2 separate regions of the Homo sapiens genome follow, and region 1 is linked to region 2. Evidence: promoter capture Hi-C in 16 types of primary human blood cells and fetal thymus (Javierre and others, 2016). All regions are on one chromosome and are shown on one strand. The core of a region is centred on a gene start or on the middle of the fragment in contact, and the rest is flanking DNA. Distances in the headings are between cores, read along the strand shown. Region 1 overlaps NTRAS (non-coding transcript regulating alternative splicing). Region 2 holds the start of TRAF5 (TNF receptor associated factor 5).

Region 1 (6,574 bases), core at 3,922-6,421, 320 kb before region 2:
CTCAGCATCATCTATAGCATGGCTTTGCATTTCCTCAAAAGCCCAGGCCAGATGCCCAGTACCTTCAGGCGGTCCAGTGTCCCCCACCCCCTAGAGCCATCTCATTCAGGACTGCCCTCCCCTGAAACGTTTTATGTTTCCAGAAGACCCTTCTCCTTCCAGGGCAAAGCCCTTTCAGTTAGGCAAGCTAGTTCCCTCAGTGACTTAAGATAAGGCTGTCCTCCTAGGCTGGACTTGGGCTGAATGCAAAAGGCGACACAAGGCAGCTGTTTAAAAAAGAATGAAGCAAATTTATATGCACCAACAAGAAGAGATTATTGCTCATTGTGACTTGGTGGCTGGGAAAATAAGGATCCCTATTAGATTGATGGATTTCACACCAAGGAGGAGGATAGAACCAGCCCTCCCAGAGGGCTGTGCTTGCTGCAGGCTAGCTGATGAGACACGTGGCTTACTTTACCCCTCGCTCAGCCCCAGCCTCAGCCTCCCTCCCTCTACACAGGGAAGACAGAGGTCAGCTGCTGAGGGCCTCCTCCATGCGAAAGGTTGCATTCCACCCGGCATTCAGAGGGGCACCCTCGCTAACCTCCATGGAGGCACCTTGCTTACATTTCTGACACCACAGCCACAGCGACAGCTCTGGGGCCCTACAGCTCCCCTCAAGCTGCTGAAATCCCAGACAACCAAAGCTGCTCATCCCTTGATGCCCTACGACCACCCAGCCAGGAAACAAATCCCCCCTCCTCCCACTGCCTGGACTCTGAGACAATCTCTGGCCATCTTGATGCAACAGAGTGTTCCATAATCATAGTCACACGTTCACAGGAAGTGTTCACAGATGATTCACTCTATTAAAAAACAAAACAAAACAAAACAGTTAAATCATGAAGTGACAACATCGTTGTAAAAAGTTCTAACAATATGGAAAGTATATATAGTGAAAATTAAAAGGTAAACATTCCTCACCCATTAGCCTAGTTTCTATCTCTGCTTTCGGAAGTAGCTATTAACACTTTGGTGTTTGGTGGTCCTTTCTAGACTCTGTGTGTGTGTGTGTGTGTGTGTGTGTGTGTGTTGCGGGATGGGGATAGAGTGTCTCTGTGTATGGGGGTCTGTGTGTGTGTCTGAGTGGATCCATCTGAGTATGTGTATTTAAAACACACGTAGGCTGGGTGTAATGGCTCACACCTGTAATCCCAGCACTATGGGAGGCTGAGGTGGGCAGATCACTTGAGCTCAGAAGTTCGAGACCAGCTTAGGCAACTGGTGAAACCCAAAAATGCAAAAAATTAGCTGGGCGTGGTGGTGTGTGCCTGTGGTGCCAGCTACTCAGGAGGCTGAAGTGGAAGGATTGCCTGAGCCTGGGAGGTGGAGCCTGCAGTGAGCTATGATTGCGCCACTGCATTCCAGCCTGGCGACAGAGTGAGACCTCATCTCAAAAACAACAACAACAACAACAAAAACACACTGGGAAAAATAGGATCTGAATACATGCACTATTCTTTAATTGTTTTTCCAATTAAAAAGAATCCTTTCTTGTTGGTTTAGATAAATAAACCTTTCTTTTTCAGACAGCTGCCCTGTGTCATCATTTACCTTCATCCCAAGTTCATTCTAGAAGGCAGCTTACCTTGAGTCTTCAGGGAACTAGCCTGCCTAGATCAGCCAGAAAGGTGGAGAGTCAGCTTCCACCTCAAGAACTCAGGGCCTGGCAGCCGAGATGGGCACACATCTTTGAAGCCCTTACTTATTCCCACAAAGCAGTTAATCAGCTCCAGTCACAGAATCACCGGTCCCAGTGCTATCCTTAAGAATCTCGTGCTTAAGGCCAGGCTCGGTGGCTCATGCCTGTAATCCCAGCACTTTGGGAGGCCGAGGCGGGTGGATCACTTGAGGCCAGGAGTTCAAGACCAGCCTGGCCAACATGGTGAAATGCCGTGTCTACTAAAAATACATAAATTAGCCAGGCGTGGTGGTGCATGCCTGTAATCCCAGCTACTCGGGAGGCTGAGGCAGGAGAGTCACTTGAACCTGGGAGATGGAGGTTGCAGTGAGCCAAGATTGTGCCACTGCACTCCAGCTTGACCAACAGACTGAAACTCTGTCTCAAAAAAAAAAAAAAACAAACAGAAAAAACAGCAACAACAAAAAACAACCTTGTGGTTGATTAACTGCAGGAGTGGTCATAACATAAAGAAGACCCCCATTAGGGTGTGGCCCCAAAGCACATGCTGGGGGGACCCCACAGCGGTTCACTGACAGCCTCAGGGCTTGCCAGAAATCTGACCCACACCTCCCCTCAGCTCCCTCTCAGCGCCGTGTTGGCCTGCCTGCTGCCAAGACAGGATCCAGGTGGTCCCTTCTGGGGCCCAAACTCTGAACACAGAGAGCTGAGATACCCTGGCTTGGACACTCACCGTTGCCCTGAGCCTGGCTTGCTTGTTTCACCTCTCTGCGCTTCAGTGTCCTCATCTGTGCAATGGGGATGTTAACAATGGCAAAGATCAAGAGGGAATACGCCATAGGCAAGGACCTAGAACAGTACCTACTTACAAAGTTATTTCACTTGGCTTCAGGAGAGATTTAAAGTGGCTTATACGAATACATGGTTATAATAAAATGCATATGTTAAAAGCAAGGAGGAAGAAGACAAGCTAGGGTGAAGCCAGGGATCAGTCCTGCATGAGAATTAGACATGATCATACACTTACCGTTGTTGGACCACAAATCTGTCTCTAAGCTTCCTAGTGGCCAAAACAAAAAAGGGCAAATGGATAGTTATGCCCTAGAGGCCTGTAAAATAAAGGCAGTTCACTTGCTCAGGTAATATTGAACCACTCTGGATGCTAAGGCAAGGCTTTTCTCCTTTGCGTCCTTAGACAAGGGACAGTGTGGTAGAAGGAGCGTCCTCCTCTGTGACATCTGTGAAGTGTGTGCCACCCCTTCTCACCTCTACCCTCCATGTAGCCTGCTGGCATCACTTGAAGCTCAAGTCAGCAAAAGCTATTGTAGCTGGGAGAGTAGTTTTCAAGTATGTTCATGTGTTTCTCTCTTTCTCCATTCTGTATATTTGCCTCTTTCCCCAGTGCCATTTTCAAGAAGAATGGACTGAGGAGGACTGGGATTGTTACAGCAAGAATGTCAAGAGAAAGACAAAGTCCTTATGCAGCCAGTGACATCCAAGGCATGGAGGCAAGATAGTTGAGTCTGCAGCATCTAGAAGTCAAACTTTGACAAGAGAGAGAAGGGTTTCCTAAATTTGCTGAGTTCCACTAACATATTAAGAACCAGGCCTGGCGGACCAGATCCAGGAGTCTGACATAAGCTAAGGAGAACACGCTGCCAGGATGTGCTGCAAGCCAGCACCGCTTCTCTGACTTTAATGTGCATGTGAATCACCCGGGCACCTTGTTAACATACAAGCCCTGGTTCCGCAAGTCCATGGTGGGGCTTGAGAGTCTACATTTCTAATAAGCTCTGGGGATACTGATGCAGCTCGTCCGTGGCCCACTGTCTAGTGGCAAAGATGTTAAGGATATCAAGGCTAAAACTGAAAGGGATTAGAGCTCCCCTCCAGGCCCAGGAAACTGGGAAGAAGATGGGCTGAGGTTGGGGACCTGGGTGGTCACACTCGTGGGCTGATCTTCCTACTGCAGGCTAAAGTCCCAGGGTAGAGGACTGGATTGGTGGGAGTTGGGTGGGGTGAGCAGTTGAATAGATTGAGAGAAAAGGCAAACACAGAGTATTTTGTGCCCTGACCCCCATTTAGAACTTCGTTAGCCTGGTGGTGGCGGCGGGGGGGCGTTGGGAAAGGGGAGGGTGCTCTGCTGAGGACAGGGGAGTATTTGGTTTGACATTCCCAAAGCCCTTGATGCCACGTAATGTGGGAGGAACTGGAAGAGATCCACTTTCTTGTATGTTCCCATGGGGGTTTCCAATGAGGATCTGGCTGGGGGCATAGGGTCTACGTGGGTCTTGGGCTTAATGGGAGTCACAACCATACTTTGGGGGTCAGCAGAGTTTTTGAGAGCAGAGGAGGTGTCCAATGGGTTGTGTAAGCTGGAGGTTACACTCACCAAGGATGTCAACAGCAGATGTCCCCAGGATTGCCAGAGACAGACTGGGCCAGCCCAGCTCATGGACCAGACAGTCACCTAGAGCAGAGAGCTGTGCAAAGAGCAGCTGGGGACCCATCCCACCACTCCCTTGAGCAATGCCATGAGGACTTCCAGAGTTCCTGGTACCACATTACCAAGAGGGCCCAGGAGAAGTGAAGTGGCTCATTAGAGTTGAACTTTGGATTCACTGAATATTTACCCCAGACCAATCAATTGATTAGCCTATCAAATGCTTCTCTCACTAATCATGTAGCAATTGTGGCAATATTAGATTTGTTACAGGTATCAGAAAAAATACCTTTGCTCATCTGGGTAGAGAGGGTGCCCTTTTTTTTTTTTTTTTTTTTTTAGCAGACATACACAGGTGATCTATAATGCTGCTTAACGAATAGTCCTTACTGGCTGGGCATGGTGACTCACACTTGTAATCCCAGCACTTTGGGAGGCCAAGGAGGATGAATCACTTGAGGTCTGGAATTCAAGACCAGCCTGGCCAACATGGTGAAACCCTGTCTTTACTAAAAACACAAAAATTAGCCGGGCGTGGTGGCACACGCCTGTAATCCCAGCTACTCGGGAGGCTGAGGCACAAGAATCTCTTGAGCCTGGGAGGCAGAGGTTGCAGTGAGCCGAGTTCAGGCCATTGCACTCAAGCCTGAGTGACAGAGCAAGACTCTGTCTCAAAAATAAATAAATTAATAAATAGTCCTCACTACTGTTGATGAAAATGCATACCTGGCAGCTTCTGGCTGGGATCAGCAAAGATGCAGGGACACAGGGCTGGGGCCACAGATCTGGGGAGGCCTGGGGGTTCAGCTGGAGGCATCCCCAGAAGCTACAATTTGAGCAGAAGTTGGGAGGAGAGGAGATACCCACATTGGTAAAGAGGGAGCAGAGAAGGGACATAAGAAGGTTTAGGCAAAGTATGGGGGAAGGTCCCATTTATTTGTCCGAGAGCTTCTGTTGCATGCCTGCCATGGAGCCAGGAACCGGGGAGTCAGAAAGATATTCCCTGCCTCATCAGGCTTGCTCTCCAAGGAGAGGATGAAAGGACGCTGCACACCTCTGACCTCTGAACAGGAGCACTGCAGGGAGGTGGTTCTGAGAACCAGGCGTTCAAAATAGTCCTGCCAGTCCCCCTACTGCCCTGCCCTCTGGCTGGAGAGTCTGGAGATGGGGATCTGGATGGTCGGAAGACCAAAGCAGTATATCCCTCACCCCATTCAGATATTTCCCAGGGAGAAGGGGGCAGCCATTTGTATTTAGAAAAAGGTTCCCAGTGAGGGTTCTCTTTTGCCCCTTTCCCCCAGCTTCCCCCAAGGACACACATGCACACCCACCCACCCCCACACAAACACACATGTGTGTGCAAGCTGATGTGTCCAGGGCCTAAAGTTCACGCTGGGGCATGAGGACAGGGGACATAATCTACTGGGAGCAGGAAGAAGACAAGTTGGAAGACCTTTAAAGTCTCTTAGAAGGGATCTGGCTTTATTATTACATATTTTTTCAGTTGCAAATTCACTTTCATCAAGTGCAGCCCCTTATTTTACCATGGGGACCCAGTGGAGGGCAGTAGAGAGGAGGGCTGGCCTGGGCTCACACGGAGCCAGGACTCACGGGGAGCCTGGTGGCCAGGAGTGCTCTCCATAACTCGGAGGCTGCTGGCAGTTCCCCTCCAGCATGCAGGAGAGGATTAATTATTAATTTTGTTTTTTGAGACATATTTTCACTCTGTCACCCAGACTGGAGTGCAGTGGCACAATCTCAGCTCACTGCAACCTCCACCTCCCAGGTTCAAGCGATTCTCCTGTCTCAGCCTCCTGAGTAGCTGAGATTACAGGCATGAGCCACCACATCCGGCTAATTTTTGTATTATTAGTAGAGGCAGGGTTTCGCCATGTTGGCCAGGCTAGTCTTGAGCTCCTGACCTCAAGTGGTCCTCCTGCTTCGGCCTCCCAAAGTGCTGGGATTACAGGAGTGAGCCACCGCACCCAGCCTAATTATTAATTTTTATAACAACCCAGAAACGTATCTGTGAACCATGAGCCCCAACACTTCTTTTCCAAATCCAGCCACTTAATCATGGTTTTAGCTGGGTCAGCTAAAACAGTCCCATCAGCTCAGAAGTGGAAAGCAGTGAAGGCCTTTATCAGCCATTCCTGGGGGCGAAGGCCAAGTTCACTGGGAGCAGCTGGTGGTGTGAGAGCCAATAATATTCTCTAAGAATCTGAGAGGCCTTTGCATATCAGAGCTGGGCCTCATGCTATTCCCTTTCCTGGCATGAGTCATTTCTTACCTTTGTGTTACTTAACTGCAGTTTTCAAAGCACTGTCACAAGACAGGATACCAGACGATTCCCAAACAACACCATAACTAGACTGGGTAGATATTGTTCTCATGGAGAAAATAACGATTCAGAGAGGGAAGTGACCCATCCAAAGTCACACAGACAC
Region 2 (6,423 bases), core at 845-3,344:
GCTCAGGGAGCTATTTACCGCCTCAGTGCTTCACCCTCACAATCTGAGAGATGTAGAGAATAAGCCTGCTCTAACTCATGAGGGCGTCATGGAGGACGAAATGAGAACAAAACGACAAGAACAAAGAGAAAATGCTTTGCAAAGGAACGAGCTTTACAAACAAATAATTATTTTTCCTTCAAGGTCCTCCCCAGTAAAGCTGAGCTAATCAGAGGAGGTTTGTCTAAGTACTGAGGTGCCTTTCCCACTGCAAGCCTAACAAGACTGACTCTGAGGCATCTAGCTCCCCGACTGTGCAAATCATCCCCACTGAAACATCCCAGTCCCTATCGTCAGGACGTTCAGTGGACGGCAGCTCTTTTCCACACTCTTTCCATCGCCCTACTACCCAAGTCCAGCGGGCTTGCTGCTGACAGAGGGAAATACCACCATCCTACCCTGCCCGTCACAACAGGCCTCTCAGCCCAGAGGCCGTGGGAGAAGTCGCCTTCTCCATCACTTCCCATGTTCCAGATGCTGGCTCAGACACTTTCTCCTGCCTCTGTCCAGGAGCCAGGGATCTGAGAGGTGATCCATTCCATAGAGTTACAACAAAAACAGTAACTGTAACAAAATCAAAAACCTTTACAGAAGCTAGGCGTTTTCCACTTCCATCTTACATCCATCGTTCCTGCAGCAATTTCTGTCTTTCTAGTTCAAATTAGAGTTAGGGATGGAAGTGTTTCCACCCAAACCATCAATTACATTAACACCCCTGTTTTCAGCTTTGTGAGTACATAAGGCAGAGCAGCTGCACTGGGATTTGAGAGTTCCTAGCCCAGCCTTTTGCTGCCTAAAATTATCTCGCACACACCCAAAACTGTTCTATTTCCAGAAATGGTTCAACTAATTTCTTTGCATCTCAGGTCTTCCAGAGCCCTTTTAAAATGCAAGTATCTCTGGAGGAAATAACCATATTCCACTGGCCCCAGCCCAGTTCTCACACAGCACCTGCCCAATAAATATTTACAGAATTAAACTGGTTACCAGATGCCTATCCTCACAGGAGGTGGGTCAGAGCCCAAGGCTATGGAGGGTGGGGGCTGCAGGGGCAGCCCTGGCAGGGAGCCTCGCCTGGTTTCACCAACCTCAATGCTCGCCTGAGGCAGCTCTGCCTGCCACAGCGAGATAACTGAGTTCTCATGAAAGTAAATCTGAAATACCCAAATATGGAAACTTAGCAGAAGGAGGCCGAATGAGCAGAGAAAGTCGGCCAGCCAGAGTGGCCCAGTGGGACCCGCAGCAAGAGCGTGGCCCCGAAAATTCTCAGAACCACCAAGACCCTGCAGAACAGGAACAAAGTGGAGACCATCTGGTACGGAGAACTCAGAATCTGCGAATTCTCTGGGTGCCTCTGGGCAACTCCTTCCACCTCTCGGAGCTTTGGTTTGCGTCAAGGTTCCTTAGAGCTCGCCTTCTGGGGGAGGGGGGTAGCTGCTTTCTAAAGGAAGACGCGCAAACGAACAGCTGGTAGAGGCTTCCATTCCTTGCAATCCTGAAGTTTCATTCTGGAGTTGCTTTGATTGGAAAGCCCTGCAAAGGTGGAGAGGGTGCCTTCGGGTGCGGAAGGGGGCCAGGGCCTGGTTTGCAGTGCGGATGTGCGGGACGTGCCTGAAAGTCCTCCCCGCCAGTGCACCCCGACGGAACCTGGCCCCTCCGGTCCACAGCCGCCCTCTGGACCAGCTCCCCAGCTTTGGACCCCCAGTCTCCGCCCTCGCCACACCTCTCCCCGGCTAAGAAACCCGCTCCGCACCGCTCCCGCTGTCCCCGGGCCGTCGGCGGTCACCTGCCCCGCCGGTCTCCCGCAAGCCCGGGCCCCTCCGCCTCCCCCGGCCCAGCCGCCGCCTCGCGCCCTCCCCGCCGGTCGGGGACCGGCCGGACGCCAGCAGGCGCTTTCGGTTTCAAAGTAACTGGGACGAGATGAAAAGCGCTCGTCGGTGTCCCCACCCCGGCCCTTCCGTCGCGAGGGTGCCCAGGGCGGCGACCCGCCGGACTCACGTGGGGCTCGGCGCGCGGGCTCCGCGAGGCCGGTCTGCAGGCGCGGCTGCTGCTCCTGGCTGCGGCCGGCGGCGGCGGCGAAGCGGAGGCGAGGCCTGGGGCGGGGCCGGGGCGCGGGCGGAGGGGCGCGGGCGGGCGCAGGGGAAGAGCGGACGCGCAGGAAGGGGTCGGGAGGAGGCTGAGACCGTCATCCAGGCGGTTGGAAAGCTAACCTACCCGCTTCAGAACCGTTAGTATCTACAAGTCCAGTCATCTGATTTCCCTCACGTGCGTCTGAATTGTGGCCGTCTTGCTCTTCCGTCAGGCACAACAAGGCTCAGCCCGTCCTCTCCTGTGTTGACCCATTTGCTCAAGGCCTTGCTTGAGATCTGGCTCAAATCAGTCCTTCCTGGACTTTCCTTCAGGGTAGCACAAATTTGCCAGCCCTCCTCTTGCTGTTGGCCTAACACCAGCAATCTCTGAGAGTTGTAGAGCTCCCCGGTTGGCTTCCCAAACATCTCCTGTGGTCCTCAAAACAAGCTGGTGAAGTAGGCCTGGTCATCCCCATTTTACAGATGAGCTGTCTGAGGGCCAGAGCAGCAACGTGGAGTGACGTACCCAAGGTTAGACACGCTCAGCAAGCTCTGCAGCTGGAACTTGAATCCAGGTCTGCTGTCTGCCTGTCTCTCTCCCTCTCTCTCTCTCTATACGTATTTTTTATTTTATTTTATTTTTTGAGACGGAGTCTCGCTCTCACGCCAGGCTGGAGTGCGGTGACGCGATCTCGGCTCACTGCAACCCTGGCCTCCCAGGTTCAAGCAATTCTCCTGCCTCAGCCTCCCGAGTAGCTGGGATTACAAGCATGTGCCACCACGCCGGGCTAATTTTTGTACTTTTAGTAGAGACGGGGTTTCACCATGTTGGTCAGGCTGGTCTCATCTCTTGACCTTGTGATCCGCCTGCCTTGCCCTCCCAACAGGCGTGAGCCACCGCGCTTGGCCTGCGCACTCTTAGATACGGGCTCTTTCTTACAATATATTCTCTCCAAGGGCAATACATTCTATATAAATGAAATGGACCAAAATTCCAATTCTATCTAGATCCTTTACTTTCAGTTAGGCCACCGTGGGAAAAGTACTTAACTGCTCTGAGTTTCAGTTACCGTCCTCGTCAATAAAAGGGGAGAATAATACACACCTTGGGAGTCAAAAACTCAGATGTGCACAGGAGCTCGGCAGGAAACATACAGGAGGGAGGCAGAGGTTGTGGTCATGGAGAAAGGAGGGAGGCGCTGGTGCACTAAAGAGCAGGTGGAGGATCTAGTGGAGCAGCCACCACCCAGTGCCAGCCTATTGTTACCTGATCTCTTATTTCTCCAAAGAGCCAGAAATCCAGATCCAAACCTTTTTTGGTTGGTGAGTTAGATGAACCGCTCCGTGGGGGAGAGGCACTGGTGGGTGTTGCTTTGGGACTGTAGATCTGTCTCATAATCTTCTCATGAGAATTAAATGAGATGGCACTCCTGTACGCCTAACACAGAGTAGGTGCTTAGTGAACCCAAGTTCTCCTTCCTGTTCTGCCATACACTATACTTTCCCTCTCTTTTTGTGGGTGTGTATTTTTTGAGAGAGGTTCTCACTCTGTCACCCAGGCTGGAGTGCAGGGGCATGATCACAGCTCACTGCAGGCTGGATCTCCTGGGCTCAAGTAATTCTGCCGCTTCAGCCCCCAGAGTAGCTGGGACTACAGGCACACACCACTACGCCCACCTCCCCCAGCTCCTTTTTTTTTTTTTTTTTTTTTGAAGAGATGGAGACTTACTATGTTGCCCAGGCTGGTCTCAAACTCCTGGGTTTAAGCGATCCTCCCACCTCGACCTCCCAAAGTGCTGGGATTAAATGTGCAAGCCACTACGTCCCACCCGCTTTCTCTTACCATTGCCTGCTTCTTGCCTCTCTTCTCATTACTTCCAAGCATAATAAAGTTGATACTGTTTTTTAGAAGTTATATCTCCTTTCACTGGCTGGAACATCAGTGTCTAGTATGCATACATGCAGGTATGCTCAGAATCCCTGGTCCTGTCATTGACTGTAATTTGCTTCTCTCTCCTACTCCTCTCCCCACCAACTAAATAAAGCAGTCAATTGTTCCAAAAATTACATCCAAGCCTTAAATATGATGGAATAAAACCTGGGATAGAGAGGTGGATCTTTATTGTGGTGGGAAATGGGGGCCGCATAACTCGAGGGCTGCGTCTAAGTGGAAAGGGTAAAGGAATTTTAGACGGGTATTAGTCAGAAGTCAGTAACATAGTCCCAATTCCCTGTTGATCATAAAGCGGAATTTGAATCCTGTATGTACATAAATGCACATATAAAAAAACATTAAATACCTTCAAGTGATAACTAACGTTTATTAAGGTTTCTTTTTTTTTTTTTTAGATGGAATCTCGCTCTGTCACCCAGGATAGAGTGCAGTGGCGTGATCTTGGCTCACTGCAACCTCCACGTCCTGGGTTTAAACAATTCTCCCACCTCAGCCTCCCGAGTAGCTGGGACTATAGGCGTGCACCACCACACCTAGCTAATTTTTGTATTTTTAGTAGAGATGGAATTTCGCCATGTTGGCCAGGCTGGTCTCAGATTCCTGATCCCAAGTGATCCACCCACCTCGGCCTACCAAAGTGCTGGGATTATAGGCATGAGCCTCTGTGCCCGGCCTATTACGTTTTATATACCAGGTACTGTGCTCAGTGTTTTTTATATTAACTCATTTAATAATCAACTCCATTTTATAGATGGAAAATCTTATCTATTGAGCAATTTGCCCAGAATCACAAAATTCTTAGTTTGAGAGAGGCAGAATTTGAATTCTGGGAAGTCTGGTTCTGGTACTCCTAGCCACTATACCCTACCCCTCAAATAAATGACTGATGTGAATTCAAACAAAACAACTTAAAGACAAATTTTAGTACTTTTAGTGTTTTGAAAATATTCAGCATTAAGTTCAACATTATATCTAACATTGAAGAGAATCCAACCTTCAAACTAAATTCAGCTACAAAATAAGACCAGGGCTGAACTATACACTACAGTTTTATGCAGAAGAAAAGCACTAACCCTTTTATCTGTTGCTTCTAGACACCGTAAGATTGCCCCAGACGCCCGAAGACATGGATTTCAGCTGTTTAATTTGCTGTATAAATTAGGGTGAGAGACTGCAGCCCTGGCTGCCAATGTAAAGATGGTGCTGATGGAGAGGTGAGGACGCCGCCTACTGGAATAGTAGATGGATGCATTATCTTCCTCAGGCTGCTCCTCTGTGACGAGACTGATCAATGTAGTGAGTTAGCTTGCAGGGCAAAAGTTCATACTTCCCATCACCTAGAGATCAGTGAGATCAGATAAGGAGGGAAAATCCTCTCCTTGGGCCATAGATTGCGACTTTGACTCCATTGCAAGTTACAATGGAAAGTCTTTGTCTGTAAACAGAACCACACATGGAAAATGTGATATACTGTAGCAGCAAACCACTTCCAGGCAAAATGCAGATCTCAGGGTCTTGTGCACAGAGAATACTCAGCTTGCTCACTAAGTAGGTGTTGTATTGAGACAATATATGAATGACTGATCCCTCTGCTTCCATCAAATAACCTTTAGCTCAGCTCTGCCTGTCAGTGTGCTGACCACCACAAGAAGAGAGGCGGGGAGTACTGGGATGGGGCAGGGACCGATGTAAATTTTTTTAAGCCTCCCTTTGCAAAAGAACCTGTGTATGTGCATTCAGCAGCTGCACCTTTAACTTAGGAGCTTAAGAAAAAACCATGTTTCTTTTGTTCTACCTTGTTTTACTCTATTGTTATTTACTGTGTTATAGGGTCAGCACCAGTTGAAAAAAGCAGACCTGTACTGTTCCTATGGCCATATATTATGTATTTATTCCAGGGGATCCCCTGCTTGATACATAAACACACCCTTCTTTATTCCTGTTCATGGTTTAATTGTCTGATGGTCAGCCTTGGCTGGAGAAATGAGATTTTTATTGTTTTTACATTAGACCTCCTGTCTTCATTGTACACCTGGCTAAGTATGAATTCTGTCCTCTTTGACAGTTTCTTTAATAAGATTCACACATGCAATTCCTATCACTGCTAGGAAAACATTTTAACATATTAATTCTGCATAATCACCAGAAGCCATTACAATATAGATTTAAAAGTTATTGTTTAGCCTTAGGAATCATGAAGTAAGATAATAGGTTTGATTGGCACAGTTTGGTCTTGGATTTTTTAATAGGTTGGTAACAAGGAAGACCATTTATTTGGTATTTATTTTTGAGAATGGTGCTTACTCTATATGCTGAGATTTCAAGCAATGATCTTGGAACCCTGGTTAGTCACATCTTCCA

Evidence for each region. Contacts are between HindIII fragments. The CHiCAGO score rates a contact against its expected background, and 5 or more counts as called.
Region 1: a fragment that was not itself captured here is called in contact with the fragment with the promoter of TRAF5 in region 2 in 1 of 17 cell types (M2 macrophages); the score reaches 6.4 in M2 macrophages.

What each region holds. Positions count from the first base shown.
Region 1 is chr1:211,648,318-211,654,891 of GRCh38, reverse strand. It overlaps NTRAS (non-coding transcript regulating alternative splicing), which reads right to left. Exons shown (of 3, transcript NR_131925.1): 3 at 270-848. Among named protein-coding and RNA genes, the nearest start is that of NTRAS, 12 kb to the right of the region's middle. RefSeq lists an enhancer at 5,591-5,885. The HindIII fragment of the contact is 4,857 bases long and covers 2,743-6,574 here.
Region 2 is chr1:211,322,504-211,328,926 of GRCh38, reverse strand. It overlaps TRAF5 (TNF receptor associated factor 5), which reads right to left and starts at 2,094. Exons shown (of 11, transcript NM_001033910.3): 1 at 2,038-2,094. RefSeq lists a silencer at 1,800-2,169 and enhancers at 2,230-2,619, 2,889-3,390. The HindIII fragment of the contact is 10,339 bases long and covers 1-6,423 here.